Linked DNA regions of Homo sapiens: region 2 is linked to region 1. Evidence: promoter capture Hi-C in 16 types of primary human blood cells and fetal thymus (Javierre and others, 2016). All regions are on one chromosome and are shown on one strand. The core of a region is centred on a gene start or on the middle of the fragment in contact, and the rest is flanking DNA. Distances in the headings are between cores, read along the strand shown.

What was found. The method cuts DNA at HindIII sites, captures the fragments that hold promoters and counts their contacts. A CHiCAGO score of 5 or more calls a contact.
Region 2: a contact is called between a fragment that was not itself captured here and the fragment with the promoter of ACSL4 in region 1, in 1 of 17 cell types (naive CD8 T cells). The highest score is 5.9, in naive CD8 T cells.

Annotation. Positions count from the first base shown.
Region 1 is chrX:109,730,000-109,737,873 of GRCh38, reverse strand. It overlaps ACSL4 (acyl-CoA synthetase long chain family member 4), which reads left to right and starts at 4,617. Exons shown (of 16, transcript NM_001318510.2): 1 at 4,617-4,735. LOC105373311 (a long non-coding RNA gene) reads right to left here and starts at 5,363. Exons shown (of 1, transcript NR_158569.1): 1 at 2,916-5,363. RefSeq lists silencers at 4,355-4,664, 4,762-4,882 and enhancers at 5,005-5,144, 5,205-5,254. The HindIII fragment of the contact is 5,191 bases long and covers 1,069-6,259 here.
Region 2 is chrX:112,828,170-112,836,043 of GRCh38, reverse strand. AMOT (angiomotin) reads left to right here. Exons shown (of 14, transcript NM_001113490.2): 2 at 3,674-3,750. Among named protein-coding and RNA genes, the nearest start is that of AMOT, 8.7 kb to the left of the region's middle. The HindIII fragment of the contact is 1,668 bases long and covers 2,358-4,025 here.

The sequences.
Region 1 (7,874 bases), core at 3,368-5,867:
CATGAGAATCTCTTGAACCCGGGAGGCAGAGGTTGCAGTGAGCTGAGGTCGTGCCACTGCACTCCAGCCTGGGCAACAGTGCAAGACTCTGTCTCAAAAATAAACAAATAAAATAAAATAAAGGGGCCAAACCAATTTACGCTCCTACTTAGAATATATGAGTGCAAGTTTCTTCATATTCTTGCCAAAATTGAATATTATCAATCTAAAGATCTTACCAACTTGAAAAGAAAAATTAAAAATATTTAATAATCTTTTATATCTATTTCTAAAAGTAATAATTATTCATTCAAACATATTGTTAAAAATGTTTTATTTGAATAACAGTAATTTGGCTTGTATCAGGTGCCATGTAGGGTCCAAGTGAAGCAGACAGTTTTATTACAGAATTTTGGTTTGAAGAGGGATGCTTTGAATAAATATCCAAAGGTTTAATCAGTCCAATAGTCCCAGTGGGGACTATTCACTCAGTTTCAGAGTGAAATAGTCCCATAATTATTTAAGCATAATTATGGGGTTTGTCTATTTCATAGACGGCATTAGCAACAGGAATATTTGTAGGATTGATGGGAATGGAGATTAACTTGGAGGTCAGATAGTGACTTAGTGAATGAAGTGGCTGTAGACCACTTCTCAAGGAATTTGTCCTTAGTTGTAAAGAAAGTTACTGAATAGGAGAATCTGGAGAAAGATTGTTCTGGTTCTAGCTTCCTTTTTCTCATCTGTGAAATGAAGAGGTTGAACTTGGTGATTAATAGCCATCATTTTATACACACTTGCCATAAATCAGGAATTTTATAGGCATGATTTCATTTAATCCTCCCTCAGAAGAGTCTTATGAATGAGGTACCATTATTATCCCCAATTTACAGAAGAGGCTGAGGCTCAGGAAAATGTTATATAACTTGGTCTAGGGTGGTTGGCTTAAGTCCAAACCCATATGGTTTCCATCGTGCTACTCTGCATCTAAGTGGCTTCCCAGCACTAATAGTCGAAGATTTTGAGTAAGGGACATTTTAAAATTTTGTTATTTTACTGGTCTTTTAAGAATAGGACATATTGGAAGCTTTTTGTATGTTAAAGGGAAAGCATAATAAAAAGAGATTTAAGGCAAGTTATGAAATTGATGACCTATCTTTTTTTGTAATATTACTAGGCTAGAATCACTACAGAGAGTGGGCAAAAATATACCAAAGGCAACTTTCTTACAGATTCAATGACAACCACAATAGATTTTTCACATACTCATGGCCTTATGGATAATAAAAATATTTTGTTATTTTTGATTCTTTATGGGAAGGTCACACAAACAATTTCAAGGATAACTGTGGAGGATTTTATTTAGAGGGTGTTGTAGTTATCTTTAAAAAGGACAAATGAGTTTCATGAGAGAAACCGAAATTAAGTTCCATTAAAATCCTGCTGTGATTTTGATGTGGACCACACTGTCTTGACGGATTAATTTGGAAAAACTTGACTCCATGCAATACTGTGTCTTCCTATCTGGGTGCACTAGATGTCTATTTGTTTTGGTGTTTCCATTAATTTAAAAACCTGAAAAATGTGCCAGAATGAAAAGAAATAGTTATTTTGAAAAAACAAATCATTTCTCAAAAATAACATTTAGATGTAGCTACTATGCCTTTGATCATTTTTGAAAGGAGTGGCTTAGGTTATTATTTATGTTCACAGTGAGATGATCATCTACGTAGGTTTCTGATTTCACCGGTTGTTTAACACAAGCCACTAAAGACAATATTTGGCCTGGTTGTTGGGTCTGCAAAAAATAAGGTTTGTTAATGACAAAATCTAACACAACTTGTCAATGCAAATATTATTATGAAGCCCTGCTGCTTGTATTTAGACCACAGGAGAAAATTATTATTATTCTACAAACCCGTGAAGTTTAACACGCAAAGGCTTGTTACACAGTCAATGAAGAACAGTTGTTTTCTGCCCTTCCATAAATAACTAATGCCAAGAGCAGCCTGGCTATCTGTTTCAGCTTCTTGTTACAGAATAATAAAATAGGCAAGGCCTAAATATCAGTGCCTGTTAACAGAGCTGTCCTTTAAATTCTGTTTAGCTTCTAACAGACTAATTCTCATGCTTTTAGTACTTATTACATTGCATTTTGAATCTGTCAATTGCATTGTACATTTTCCTAACTCTTCCATTTCCATACGTTTATCTACTCCATTTCTAATTGGGTTGGTAGTTCTGGGTAGGACTCATTACAGAGGCAGCTTAATGTAGCGGCAAGCACCCTGGTCTAGGAGTCATAAGCAGTGTAGTAGGAAATTCAGGCTCTGTTACTACTTAGTTGTGTGACTGGACAAGACACTTAACCTGCATCTATTTCTTCATCTGTGAAATAGGGATAATAATACCCTATCTTCCTAACTAATAAACAACGTTGCAAATGTTCTCTTTAAAATGTCAGACAGCTGCTTGGGAAATATTTTGCTCCTGGGCAGTAATTTCTGGAAGGTTTCTGATGACAAGAAATTAAGCAAGGTTTGTTTTGACTCCGAAAAAGGAAAGCTGGAAATAGCGTGGTTATACTTGGTTTCCTTTTTGGAGGTATAGTTCTTCTTTCCTCTTCAACTTGGGTGCAGTTAAATGTGGAAGAAGGTGAGATGTGGTAGGTGATGAAGACAGCCAGAACTGTACACACTAATGAATAGCTTAAGTAATAAGAGATCTTGAAAATCCAAGTAGTTTCTTGGTCTGATAAACATATCTATATGTATATCATACACACATTTGTATACCAAAAAACGGATAGTTTCAGGCTATAGTGATTTCTTTCCTTTATATCTTGTAGAGCTGGAGGAACTTCAGTAAGCTGAAGACTCTGTTCAGAGGAAATTACCTAATTGAAAATGTCTGGGCTAAGAGACCGACAATAAAGGAAACTGGCAAAAGTACTCTTTAATTACAAGTTCTTTTTCATCTTCATCCAGCACACTGATTTATGTGCTACACTGGGTTTGTATTATATCTATATTTTAATTCCACAACTAGACACTAACTTTATTGAGAACAGCGATATTCATTTCTTCAATTTCATTTGTGTTAACCCAACTGTAGGTGATAGTGCTCTGTACATCATAGTTACCCAGTGAATTACGTACCTGACATATGATTGCTTATTTCTGGTATTAAAACAAGATTTCATAAAATAAACATGACAATTAAACTCGTTGTTTGAAGTACTGAACTTTGTAGGTCAATCTTGAAAAAGGAAGCTACATGACTGTCTTAGCAATATTTATAGGTATATTATATGTAAGTGGGTGGGTTTCTTGGAAATTGAATTGGTAATATGGCTTTAGAGTAGTAACACAAAAACTATAGCTCTGTGCTCTCAGCTAACCACTTTTAGTGTCACCTGGGCTGCTTATTAAAAATTCAAATTTCTTATCCCTACCCAGATCAGAATCAAAATACCTGGGGGTTGTAGCTCCAGGTACCTACATTTCAACAAGCACCCCAGATAATTGTGATGCACACTGAAGAACTACTCTAGCTTGTAATCTCAGGTGGTAAGGCATTTTATATATACATATATATATACACACACACAAGCACAAATGGTAATTCTATGGGAAAATGGAAATCAGCAAGTGAAGTGAAATGTCAATTACCATCAGGAACAGGAAGCTAGTTCACCATTACGCATCAGGGAACTGGAAGAATTCTTGAGATTTATTTTTTTGGGTGATATATTCTTGGCAGTTTATCAGGCCTCATTTGCAATTATGGTCTGTCCCTTTTGAAGCCCTCAGATAGTTCGCTGGCATTTTAATTTTAATAGCAATTTCTTGCATCTGTTGGAACAGCATTCGTATGACCGGCTTATAAGCAATGATCAGGGCTAGTAAGATGTCACAAAGCTGCGGTGACTTTTCCTTATCAGTTGGGGGTTTTTTTGCCATGATACCATCGTGGAAATGAAAGACAACGTGAAAATCCTGCGTCCTTGTGATATTTCATCAGTGGGAGTGAGCGGGGATCTTAACGCAGTAAGAGGCAAGATAAACGGATGAGAGGCATTAGTTCAGGCTTACAGGAGCAAGATGCTTTTAGTCAAAGTGTTCAAGATAGCTCTCTTAAAGAGGAGCAGTGAAACCCAAAAATGAGTGTCTTTTGAGGGCAGCTGGAAGATGACCCGAGGGGAACTTTTATCCTGGGGTGGAGTCCTGCGAAGCAAGCCGCAGGTGAGGGCGTGGGCCAATTCTGCGCCTCACTGCTGTTAGGCGCAAGGACATCCCGAAACACACTCAACGACACCAGCAGCGAGACTGACAGAAGCGGATCGCCAGCGGGAGCAACAACTTGAGGCGAGCCGTTAGCCGCCTCGCCTTCCTCGCAGCGCCCCTCCCGCGCCCCGGGAAGCCCGTTCGGCTCCGCCTTTTCGACTGACGTCCCGGGCGAGCGGGGGCGGGCGCGTGGGTGGGCCGAGCCGTCTGCAGCCAGCGATTCGGCTGGCTCTGCCACACCACCGCGCGCCCCCGCTCCGCCCGCCCCTCCGGGCGCGTCTTTTCCGGGCTCGCGCTGAGTCCCGCCTCCGCCGGCTGTCCGGGTGCGCGCGCGCCGCTGCGGCTTTTTCTCTGGCCTCCGCCGCGCGCTCCTCCTCGTCCCAGCGCTAGCGGGCACGCGGTTCCTTTTTGCGAGCTTTCCGAGTGCCAGGCGCCGGCCGGCTGCGAAGACGCGGTGGGCCGCCCCTCCGGTGAGTATCCCTGGATGGGGAGGTTGCGGCCCCGGCACCCCTGCCCTGTCGGTACCAGGGCCCCATTTCCAGAGGGGGACTGGCGTACCTCACCTGAGCCGGGAGGAGGTTGGGTGGGCATTCCAGCTCCTGGAGTCGGCTCGCTTTTTTCCTTGAGCCAGGGCTATCTATCCGCTCGCCTCCGCTGGGGCCGGGAAGATTCCCGAGGTCACTGTATCTGCTCCTGTGATGGACTCTGGGGTCCTCGGAACCCCAGCCTGCCTCTTCCTGCCGCTCACCGCATCCCGAGGGCCAGAAGTCATCTTCCTGATCGGGGTACTAGGCTTTGCCACGGCCCTTTCCGGAGGAGACCATGAAGTGCTTGCTAGACCTCCAAACGACCTTTAGGGTGCCCCTAAACCTCAACTCCATTTTGTCCCCTCCCAGTCGCTCTGTAACTGAGGGCTAGGGAGCCTCTCTAGCCCTAGAGGCATCCGCCCTCTCGAATTTGAGGGATGCCGTCGCTTCCGATATCTTCCTTGCTTCCGATATCTTCCTAGCTTCCGTAGGCTTAGGTTTGTTAGAAAACAGCTGGATCCTGGCGAAGCGTGCTTTCCTTCCTTCCCCCACCCCCGTTCTTTCTGTCTACATCCCTGCCTTCAGTGGGTGCTATATATTTAGTATGAGCTTTATTCACTTCCTCTTCCTCTCGTTTGAGTGCCTGAAAGAACTGTGGCTGATGTCTATAGACATAGAAAAATCTAGGAGAATATGATTCATTGTCTAACCCCATCAAGGGGTTACATATTTTAAATAAGACGTCATTTCTCCTCTTCACTCCAGCATCTCCTCCTTCAAAGGCATTTTTCACCCTCTTGAAATTAATACGCTCTATTCGCTCTTTTCACCTAAAAAAAGGTCAATCGTCGCTCTGAGAAACAACAGTGAGATGCAAAATAAGGGTAAAATGGCATTGAAATGAATCCCTTTGAAAAAGTAAGCGGTTTGCTTTATCAGTTAATGGTCTCATCAGCGCTTCAGTTTCCTCTTCTGCAAAAATCAGTCTGTTGAACTAGAGCATATCAAAGGTTCCTTCTAGTGTTTTGATTCTAGGACCTCTAAATTCATGCAGGCTGCATAATGCAAATTTAACCTGATTAAAGCCTTATTTCTCATAGTCGCTTGTCACCTTAGTTTTTCTTTTATTTTGTCTCTAACAAGAAAGACTTTTAAATGTTCTTGATACGTAAGGCAGCAGGTGGAGATTCAATGATGGTACTGCCATTGAGCATATCGGTCAAGATTTTAACAGTGTAAGGCCTCTTCCTTAAATTGTAAAATAGCTCATCTTTTGATTGAAACTGCTAAAGTGTAAGACATGTAAGACTCCTGTTAGAATTAACACTCTCTGCCATTTAGGTGGGGGATGAAACATTAAACTGTTAGTATACTTGTACCTTAGAATAAAGTACCTTATTGTCCTGCTATAAGAAATAATTTGACAACTAAAAATCCATGGAAGGTGTAATACAGCAATTGAAAGCTTGAGTAAATTCAATTTTGTGGGTTTTTTTTTTTTTTTGGAAAACCCCCTATTTAAAAACACAAGTGATTTAGATTAAGATATTTCTTTCAGTATTTTTGGTAGGGGTGAGATGGGTGAAGAAAGAAGAGTCTTGTTCAATTCAGACAAGAGAAATGAATTGGAACTCTGGAGAGGCTCAGGTTCTAGACCCAACTCTAGATATATATTTAACCTTGAACAAGTCACTTCACCTCTCTTAGTTTTTGCATCTGTAAAATAAGTGTCTTTATGGTTGTTGAAATGATCCACAAGTCCCCCAATTTGAATGATATATTCTTATAATGAATATATATGACAAATATATATATACACACGTGTATATATAGGTATACACACACACATATAATGCAATTTGCGTTAAGGCTGTTATAAATCCTGTTATACCAGTTGACTAGAATGTTTTTCTCAAAGGTTTGTGTATAGTGGTTTCAATTTAGGTATACTTAGTTCTTAATCCTGATTAAATAAATAATTATATGTGAAAATCTATAAACTCAGAAGCATTTTACAAATGTTGGGTATTATGTTAATTTCTGCTTGCAAGTGAAATGTGTGTTATACCGCACTATTTTTTAAATGTCCATGGCTTTTAGAAATTTATAAGGGAATGGCTGGGTGTGGTGGCTCACGCCTGTAATCCTAGCACTTTGGGAGGCCGAGGCCGGCGGATCATGAGGTCAGGAGATCGAGACCATCCTGGCTAATACGGTGGAACCCCGTCTCTACTAAAAATACAAAAAATTAGCCAGGCGTGGTGGTGGGTGACTGTAGTCCCAGCTACTTGGGAGGCTGAGGCAGAAGAATGGCGTGAACCCGGAAGGTGGAGCTTGCAGTGAGCCGAGATCGCGCCACCGCACTCACATACTGCCTTACAACTGTAATTGGCTAGGAACTTTAAAATAATATGTGGGCATCTCATTCATTTATTAATTCATTCAACTATCTTCTTCCTTCATCTGTCACGTATGTCAGGCCCTCAGGACATGATGGTTAAGACAAACCCTACTCTATGAGTTTATACTTTGGGCTGATGGAGATGGTTGGGGGGCATGTGGAGAGACAGATGTACATCCAGTTTATTTTTGTTAAAAACAACAACAGTCAAATCAAGGACAAACAAAATTCTGGAGAAGTTAAGTTTCCATAGGGGAGGAAGAGATGATTCTATTAATTGTAGCCTGTAGACTCTTTGACATTACCTTTTTCTCCATCCTTTCAATTGCTGAGCCTTTAGCAAAAATAAAAGCTTTGTTTTTCCACTTCTACCATTGGCTGGTCTTATATACTCTTTCTTTCCCTTTTAACTTTTTATTTTGAGATAGTTGTAGATTCACATATAGTTGTAAGAAATAATACGCTTTATCTAATTTCCCCCAATAATAGCCTCATGCATAAGTATAGTGTAACATCACAACTACAAAATTGAAATCGATGCAATCCATCAACCTTACTCAGATTTCGTCACCTTTAATGCAGTCATTTGCATGTATGTATTTAGTTCTACATAATGTTATCACGTGTAGATTTATATAAGCACTACCACAGTCAAGATACAGAACAATTGCATCACCACAA
Region 2 (7,874 bases), core at 1,942-4,441, 3.1 Mb before region 1:
GACAGTTAAATAAAAGACAAGAAGTGCAGCAGCAGAATGGCCCACACATAATGGGTTCTTCATCTGAGGTCTTCACCATGTAGTCAAATTTCATAGTTCTTTAATTTTCCTTTGATAACAAAGGTGTGGTATACATGTGATCTCTAAGATTTGATGGATTAGCCAGGCATGGTAGCTCACACCTGTAATCCCAGCGATTTGGGAGGCAGAGGCGGGCGGATCACCTAAGGTCAGGAGTTCAAGACCAGCCTGACCAACATGGTGAAACCCCTGTCTCTACTAAAAATACAGAATTACCTGGGTATGGTGGCGCATGCCTGTAATCCCAGCTACTCAGGAAACTGAGGAATAAATTGCTTGAACCTGGGAGGCGGAGGTTGCAGTAAGCCAAGATCACGCCATTGCACTCCAGCCTGGGCAACAAGAGCAAAACTCCGTCTCAAAAAAAAAAAAAAAAGATTTGATGGATTCATTCCTGGAAACCAGTGGCTCATCATAAATTAGATTAAATTTCTCTAACTGGAATAGAAAGTGTGGTATGGGTTTTTAGTATTTAGAAAGTAGCAAATGAGGAACAGGAACTTTTTTTTTTTTGTAATATATGATCCTGGAGAAAATGCAAATGGGTGTATTTGCCAATGTTTCCTAAGGCAATTCTTGAAAATCTACTCTTTTAAGTCTGTGGGCTTGCCTTGACATTTGTAAAGGCACTTTCACTCTTGCCCTAACTCCATGAAATATCATTAGCCTGTGTGACTTGAAGCCAGGATCTGGTTTTCTCTGCCCAGCCCCTCTCTGTCTTACCATGTGACCAAGGGTAAATGAATTAGCTGCTCTAAGCTTCAGTTACCCTTCTGGGAAGCAAGGATATTAATAATCACAGAGGTGTTTCGGCATGCTTCATATTGGGCACATGCTTTGAGGTCATTGGATGAAAGGTGTTTGCATGATGGCAGAGCAGGCTTATTATAGGGTCTTGAGCAGGTGTTCCTTTTTAATGAGCTTTGCTCTCTTATAACATACAGTGCCCTTTGGTGCCCCATTGCCTTACTGACTGTAATTACCATTAACCCAACATTTGTATTATTGGCCCTCTCGGCTTTTTGGAAAAAAAATTAAACAGTTTTGTACTGTGTGGTAAGTTGAGGTACAAATAAGAGGACTCTAGCATCTTACAGGGTGGTGAAAAATAGCTTCAAAAAGAAACGTTAGTTGAAAAGGGCTATAGAGATCAGTGAGTTATTCAAAGCTCCTCCAAAAGATGAAAAAGAATAAAGCAAACTTCTGTGTGTGTGCGCATGCACGTTTTAAGGGAGAAAGTTTTCAGTAATATTTGCTTGTGACACATACTGATGATAGCCAGTAACTGAAACCCAGCCATTGTAGTGTTTTATACACAGCTGGATTTTATTAATGATGGAATATTTATGCTTGCTGTACAATTCGTGGCTCATTTCCATGTGTATGTCAGAACTTAAATACCCCCAAAAGAAACATTAAGATAACATGAAATATAAATGTGGCCAAGCTAGAAAGGGTGGATTTGGTGGAGAGTCTCCCTTCTTCTTATTGGTGTCACATCAGATCACAATAACTGTGCCGCCCCCCTATCAACCTTAGGCATTGATACTGATCTTTTTTTCCCCTTATATATACCCCATAGCAAACTTCACATTTCAATCTTTTTGATATGGACAAACGATCTGCTCTCCTCTTTATAATGCAGATAAAACTGATGTATGTGTTTTTTAAGAGCATATTTTCCCTGCACATGCTTCTCATTATCCGAGAGGCCTGGACTCAATCAGTAAAGGAGCAGAGAAACCACATAATTGAAAGGAGAATGACGGTGGTGCATACTTGGAATATTTGTGGGAAGGGGATTGCTGACATCAGAAAATGTAGTGGCCTGAGTGTTAACAGCATTGAAGAGAAATCAGCTTTCTGTGTTTCTGTGTATTGAAAATTATTTTTAAGGGAATAAAAATATGGGCCAGGTTTGACATCCTTTTATGAAGTTGCCCTGGAAACTTTGATGAAGATTGTTAAAGAATAGCTCAATTAAAACCTTCCCCATTAGGAAGCTAATTAGTACATCCCTTACTCATTTTGGTTGTTTTCAAGGGGCATGTATTTGCATTGAATTAGTGACATTTGTTCCATGTGATAGCAAACTAAGATAAAAATCACAGATGGGGAAAATTATTTAGATTGCCTGTTTTGAAGAAACCTAATTCCTCTTTATTACATTTAGATTTTCAGTTCAGAGTTTTGTTTTACTATGTTTATATACAATGATCACATTTTAGTGTGGTAGCCAGTTTTGCTTTCTGGATCATGGGCTATAAACCAAAGCTTATTTGAATTTCCCGTATGAATTAGGGAAATAGAACAAATGACAACAAACCATTTTATTAAGGTAAGATTTCATTTTTTTCTTCTACAATTAGTTTCTCTTTGGTCTATGTGTGTGTGCCTGAGAGAGAGAGTAGGGGAGGCAGATTGTTTTTTTAAAAAGCAAACAGTTTTTGAAGCTAAGAAAATTTTGATGACCCCCCCCCCCCCTTTACTCCCAGGAACATTCTGTCTGCCTCAGGCTGGGACCAGTTGGGCTTTGGTTAGGGGAACATGATGAATTTTCTGACCTGGTGCTTTCTGTGACCAGGCTAAGTGGTTCTCCCTTGGAAGCCTGAAGGAAAGAGGTTATGGTGAGAACAGGAGTGCAAGATTTCTAGCAGGTTCTTTTTACTGTACTCCACCTTTTTTTAGGGGGGTGAGTACTTGCTTCTGAGATTTTAGGGCCATTTGCAGTAGAGTCAATGCTTTATAGCCAAATGTAAAATATGGGCCAGTTGTGGCCCTCCTTTCCCCGCATCACTTTAGGTGACGGTCATTCTGTACCTAGGTTCCCATATGCTGTGCCCACGGTGTAGGTGTATGCCTGCAGTAGTTTGTGCAAATAAGAAAGTTAGCTGGGTTATATGATTTGTGGTTTAATCTCACCTTAGTCCTTCTTGGGAAGGCAGGGTTTAGATTCAGTTCTGCAGTGGCACCTCAGGCAAGGCAGGTTCCCTGTGCTTGCAAGGCAACAGCAGGAGGAGGAGGGGCTGCCTTCTGCCTTCAGAGAGTGACTCAGGCCCTTTGGTATGAAGATATGAAATGCTGGCTCCTGTCCATACACCTGCTGGATGCCACACCTGCAGTCAGCACCTGAGCCCCACTCAGACACAAAAACCAGACTGAAGGCAGATGGGGCTCCCTTGAAAAGGGGCACAGCGAAACAGGGAGCTCTCAATTATGTTAGTAGAGCCCCACTGGGAACTGGGTTTAGTCATCCCAGTGTTGGCGTGGGGAAACAGATTACTTTCTTTTAGATGCAGCTCACTCACTTGCTCAAGATACTGTTAGAGTGTTTCAGGAGTTTGCTTTCCTAATGAATTTCTCTTGTGAACTGTCCTCTTAAAAACTGGAGGGGCAATTCTGTGGAGGGTTATGTCTTAGAACCAAGCACAGGGCAGGAAGTCGCAAGACCTGGGTTCCAATGCTGGCCCTACCAATGGGCAACAGTGAAATTCTGGTCCAATTAGTTATGATTAGCTATCTGTTCTGGACTTGAGCTTCCCTCTCCAGTTCTAAAATGGAATTAATCACATCTGCCTTTATTTCCCCACAGAGCTGCTAAGAAGGACAAATAAGATAGCAGAGTGAAAGAGCTTTTGTCTCCTTAGAAGGAAGGCTGAGAAACTAAAGGTAATAATAACATTATTATTATTGTTATTCCATGTCTTTCTTTGTTTTCTTCTCCTGCTGTGGCCTCTAGCAAAGTTTTGGGGAAGTTATCATTCACTCAGTATGCAACTATTAAGCACATTTTATGTACCAGTTAATGTTTTAGGTATTGGGATGCATACAATGAAAAATCACGCACCCCGCCCATGCCCTCTAAGATCTTACAGTCTAGCAACTTCCCTTTCCATTTCTGGCTCAACCCGTAATAGTGATTGCTACCAGGGCACTCAGAAGCTTAAAAGGTGAGAGTTAACTTCTTTTTTTCTCTCCACACTACAGCTGGGGATTTCTGTCCCTGGAGCTGTGTATTGCAAGGTCTAGCTTGGAGATATATGGGAGGAAAGGCCATCGGGATAAATAAAGGAATTTCTTTCCCTCCCACATTTGCAAAGTACCTAACCCTTGAATGATCTTTTTTTTTTTTTCCCCAGAAGTCCATGTTTAGTTTCATCCTGGGTTCTGTTCTGTTCCTAGTCAATATGGTCCAGCCCTCTCTTATGACCTTAGCTGTCATCCATATGCTAATGACTCCCAAAGATATATCTCAACCTATCTTTGATGTCAAATTGGTCATCACACTCCATGTCTTCTACTCAGCTTATAGGTTTTTGATATTTTCCTCCTCTTGGGAGCTTTTTCAGGTAGCCCAGGGTTTTTTGCAGAGCCCTATGTGTTGCCGGAGCTATTAGCTCATACCTCTGTTTTCCCGTTGAATTGGGCCTCCTCTGCCTGACTGGGAGCTCCTCAAGTACTGGGCTCTCTTTTTATTTATTTATTTATTTATTTATTTATTTATTTATTTATTTATTGCCACCCTAGGCCTTACCTAGCACAATGTCTGGCTACAGTAAGTGCTCAGTAAAAGTTTATGGAAAATTTGCTGTGATAAGTGTCATCATAGAGAATTCATTTTCCATGTTGAGCAGAGTTGAGGTCAGGAATAGATGGAGAGGGATTAGGGAAAAATCTTCAAAGAGAAGATGGACAGCAGAACTGCCTTATTTTGAGAGTTCTGGCTAAGAAGTCACGGAAGGAATGCCTGTTGTGTCCACTGTTGTTAAACCAGGGGCATCTCTGACCTATTGCCTCCCCTGCTTTAGGACCGGATGATTTTTATGGTCAGGTCTGCAAATCAACCTCTGTCTATAATACATTGACCATTTAAGACAGGTGTCACTTAGTCATCTAGTATTAAACAGGGCTGACCTTAAATGTGCCACCTTAACTGAGGCTGAAAATAGAGCTACACACACAGGCTCATTGATCATGCCTGCTTAGTTCTATACAGCAAAATGTCCCTTAAGATATATTGAAGATTGGGATCTAAAAACTGACAAATTCAATTCTCAGAATGTAAGCAGGTTGGGTCACAAGAACTGAATGTCTTCAAGCTGACTGTCAGATCTTTCCAAGGGCAAAAATGAAAGATGATATAAGCTATTACAGGCCATGAACCTGTTTTCACCCACCTGATGCTTTTACTAATTAGCTTCTTGGCTGGGTGGCAATTTGGGGCAAGTGCATGCAAGCTGGATTCACAGGGGAGCCCGCATTCCACTCTGCCATTTCGCAAGCCACTGGGATACTACACTGCTTCTCTTGGCTTCTTTCCCTCCCAGGAGCCCTGCTCTGCCCTGGTGGAAAAATGAGAGCGGGAGAATTTTTCATTAAATGAGGGAGGGATTTCATGGGACTCTGGTGTTTTGCTAATTTTATTTTTTAGTGGGTTGTCTAAAAACATTTATGCTTCTTGACCCATCAGTTTCACTTCTGGGATTCTATCATGAAGAAACAATCTACAATATTGAAAAAGGTTAAATCACAAAGATGTTTTTGTAACATTATTTAGATTAGCATAAAATTGGAAGCAATTTACATGTCTTAATAATTGAAGAATGGGTAAGTGAATGCTGATACACTTGTTTAATGCACTATTATGCAGCCATTACGATGTTATGAAGTTATGCCACAACATGGAAAAAGTATTTATGGTGAGGTGAAATGCAGGATCCAAAATTACATCTTATTAATAATTCATTGCTTGTAAAAACCCAAATACACATAGGAAAACTAAAGGAAATATAATGTTAACAGTGCTTAAGTTGAGGTGCTTGGATTATAAGTGATTTTTTTCTTTATTAAAAATAAATGCATGCTGTGCTTATATTACTTGTAAAATAAAATATAAGTAGATATGAAAATGGGTGGTCTGGCATTGGCGGTTAAAGATTGGTCAAGCAGGCAGCTTCTAGGTATATTCTTAAACTTTTCTCATTTTAGGCTCCATCTAATTACAGGGACTCTTTATACTTTTCTCGAGATAATAAAGAAGGGGATGTGATGGTGTGGTCTACTCCTCTTTTGGAATGGATGTGTGTGCTGGGAGATAGAGGGAGGTGGCAACAGGATTCTCCTTGCTACCCAGTATGTCACTGCTCACATCCACTTCAGGGTTGATCACCTTTGTTGCCTATAAACATGTTTAAGGTAATTGCTTCAGAGCAAAGCAAAGTCAAACTGGGACCAAAAACGACCAAGACCTTGAGTTACCATCCCAGAAACGGATCTCTCACACTGATCCTCAGTAAGATTTGGAAATGCCAAGGCCTTGCTGTGGTTCTTAAAATAATTTTTCAACCTAATCTAATAGGGTGTTCAAAAATAATTGTGATGTTTGCAATAGAGTGTATTAAGCTGTCCTTGCATTGCTATAAAGAAGTACCGGAGACAGGGTAATTTATAAAGAAAAGAGTTTTAATGGGCTCACAGTTCTGCAGGCTTTATGGGAAGCATGGTGCGAACATCTACTTGGCTTTGGGGCGGGGGCCTCAGGAAGCTTGCAATCATGGCAGAAGGCGATGGGGGAGCAGGCACATCACATGGCAAAAGCGAGAGCAAGAGACAACGGGGGAAGATGCCACACATTTTTAAACAACCAGATCTCATGAGAACTCACTATCAGAACAGCACCAAGAAGATCTGCCCCCATGATCCAATCACCTCCCACCAAACCTCACAATTCAACATGAGATTTGGGCAGGGACACACATCCAAACTATATCATAGAGGTAGAGATAGGAACAAAGAAGAGTTGGGGCTGACTCTTCTCTTAAGCCTTTTCTTGAACTAGTGCTAGAGTTAGGTAAGAGCAAATGCCAAGCTGGTATGATATTGAACAGACCTGGAACAGGGGGCCTGGAAACATCCATCTGTGGAGGTTCATGTTGCTGTTCAATCCACCTCACATCTTAGCCTAAAAAGCGAATTTGCAAAGCCTTTCTATAGTAGTACTTCTAGCTAAACACTTCCCCCTTACTGCCTTGAATTTTCCTTCCTTCCATTAACATTTTACTTCCAATGGAACTGGAAAATCAGTGGTAGCGTTAAAGCAGGTTTATAGTCTTTTAAAATCAGGGTCAATTCTATGTAATAAATAGTTATTAAGCATCTCCTTTGTACAAGCAAATAATGCTAGATAATATGTTGTAGTGGAAGGGCTCTTGCCCTAGGCGTTATAAAAACTTTCATTTTGGTCCTGGCTCTCTCTTACCCTTTGAGGCCCTGGCATCTTCATCTATACAAGAAGAGGGTGGGACCACTAGGTGGTCTCCCTTTCCAGTTCTGGCTTTCAATGATCTAAGGACCCCTGTGTAGTAGACTGAGTTGCAAATAAAGTTTTTTTGTTTTTGTTTTTCAAAAAAACAACCTTTCTTCATAAAATTGCTGTACACTTCTAAAAAAAAAAAAGGCTACTTTGAAATAACAATTATAGTAATAGCTTACTTTTATTGAGGCCTTACTATGTGCCAGGCTCCATGCTTAGCACTTTACATGGATTAATTCCCTTAATCTTTATAACAACCCTATCTAGTATGAACACCATTATCCCTATTTTGCAGATGATGAAATTGAGACTTGGGAGATCAAGAGACATGTACAAGGTCTGTTAGTAAGCCATACATCCAGGATTTAAACTTGGGCAGTGTGACTCTAGGCCCAGACTCTGTGCCACGGTGTTTATGATGCCTATCCATTGAGATAACCTGCAAAAGGACCATTGTTTTTCACATCCTAAATGAAGTGAA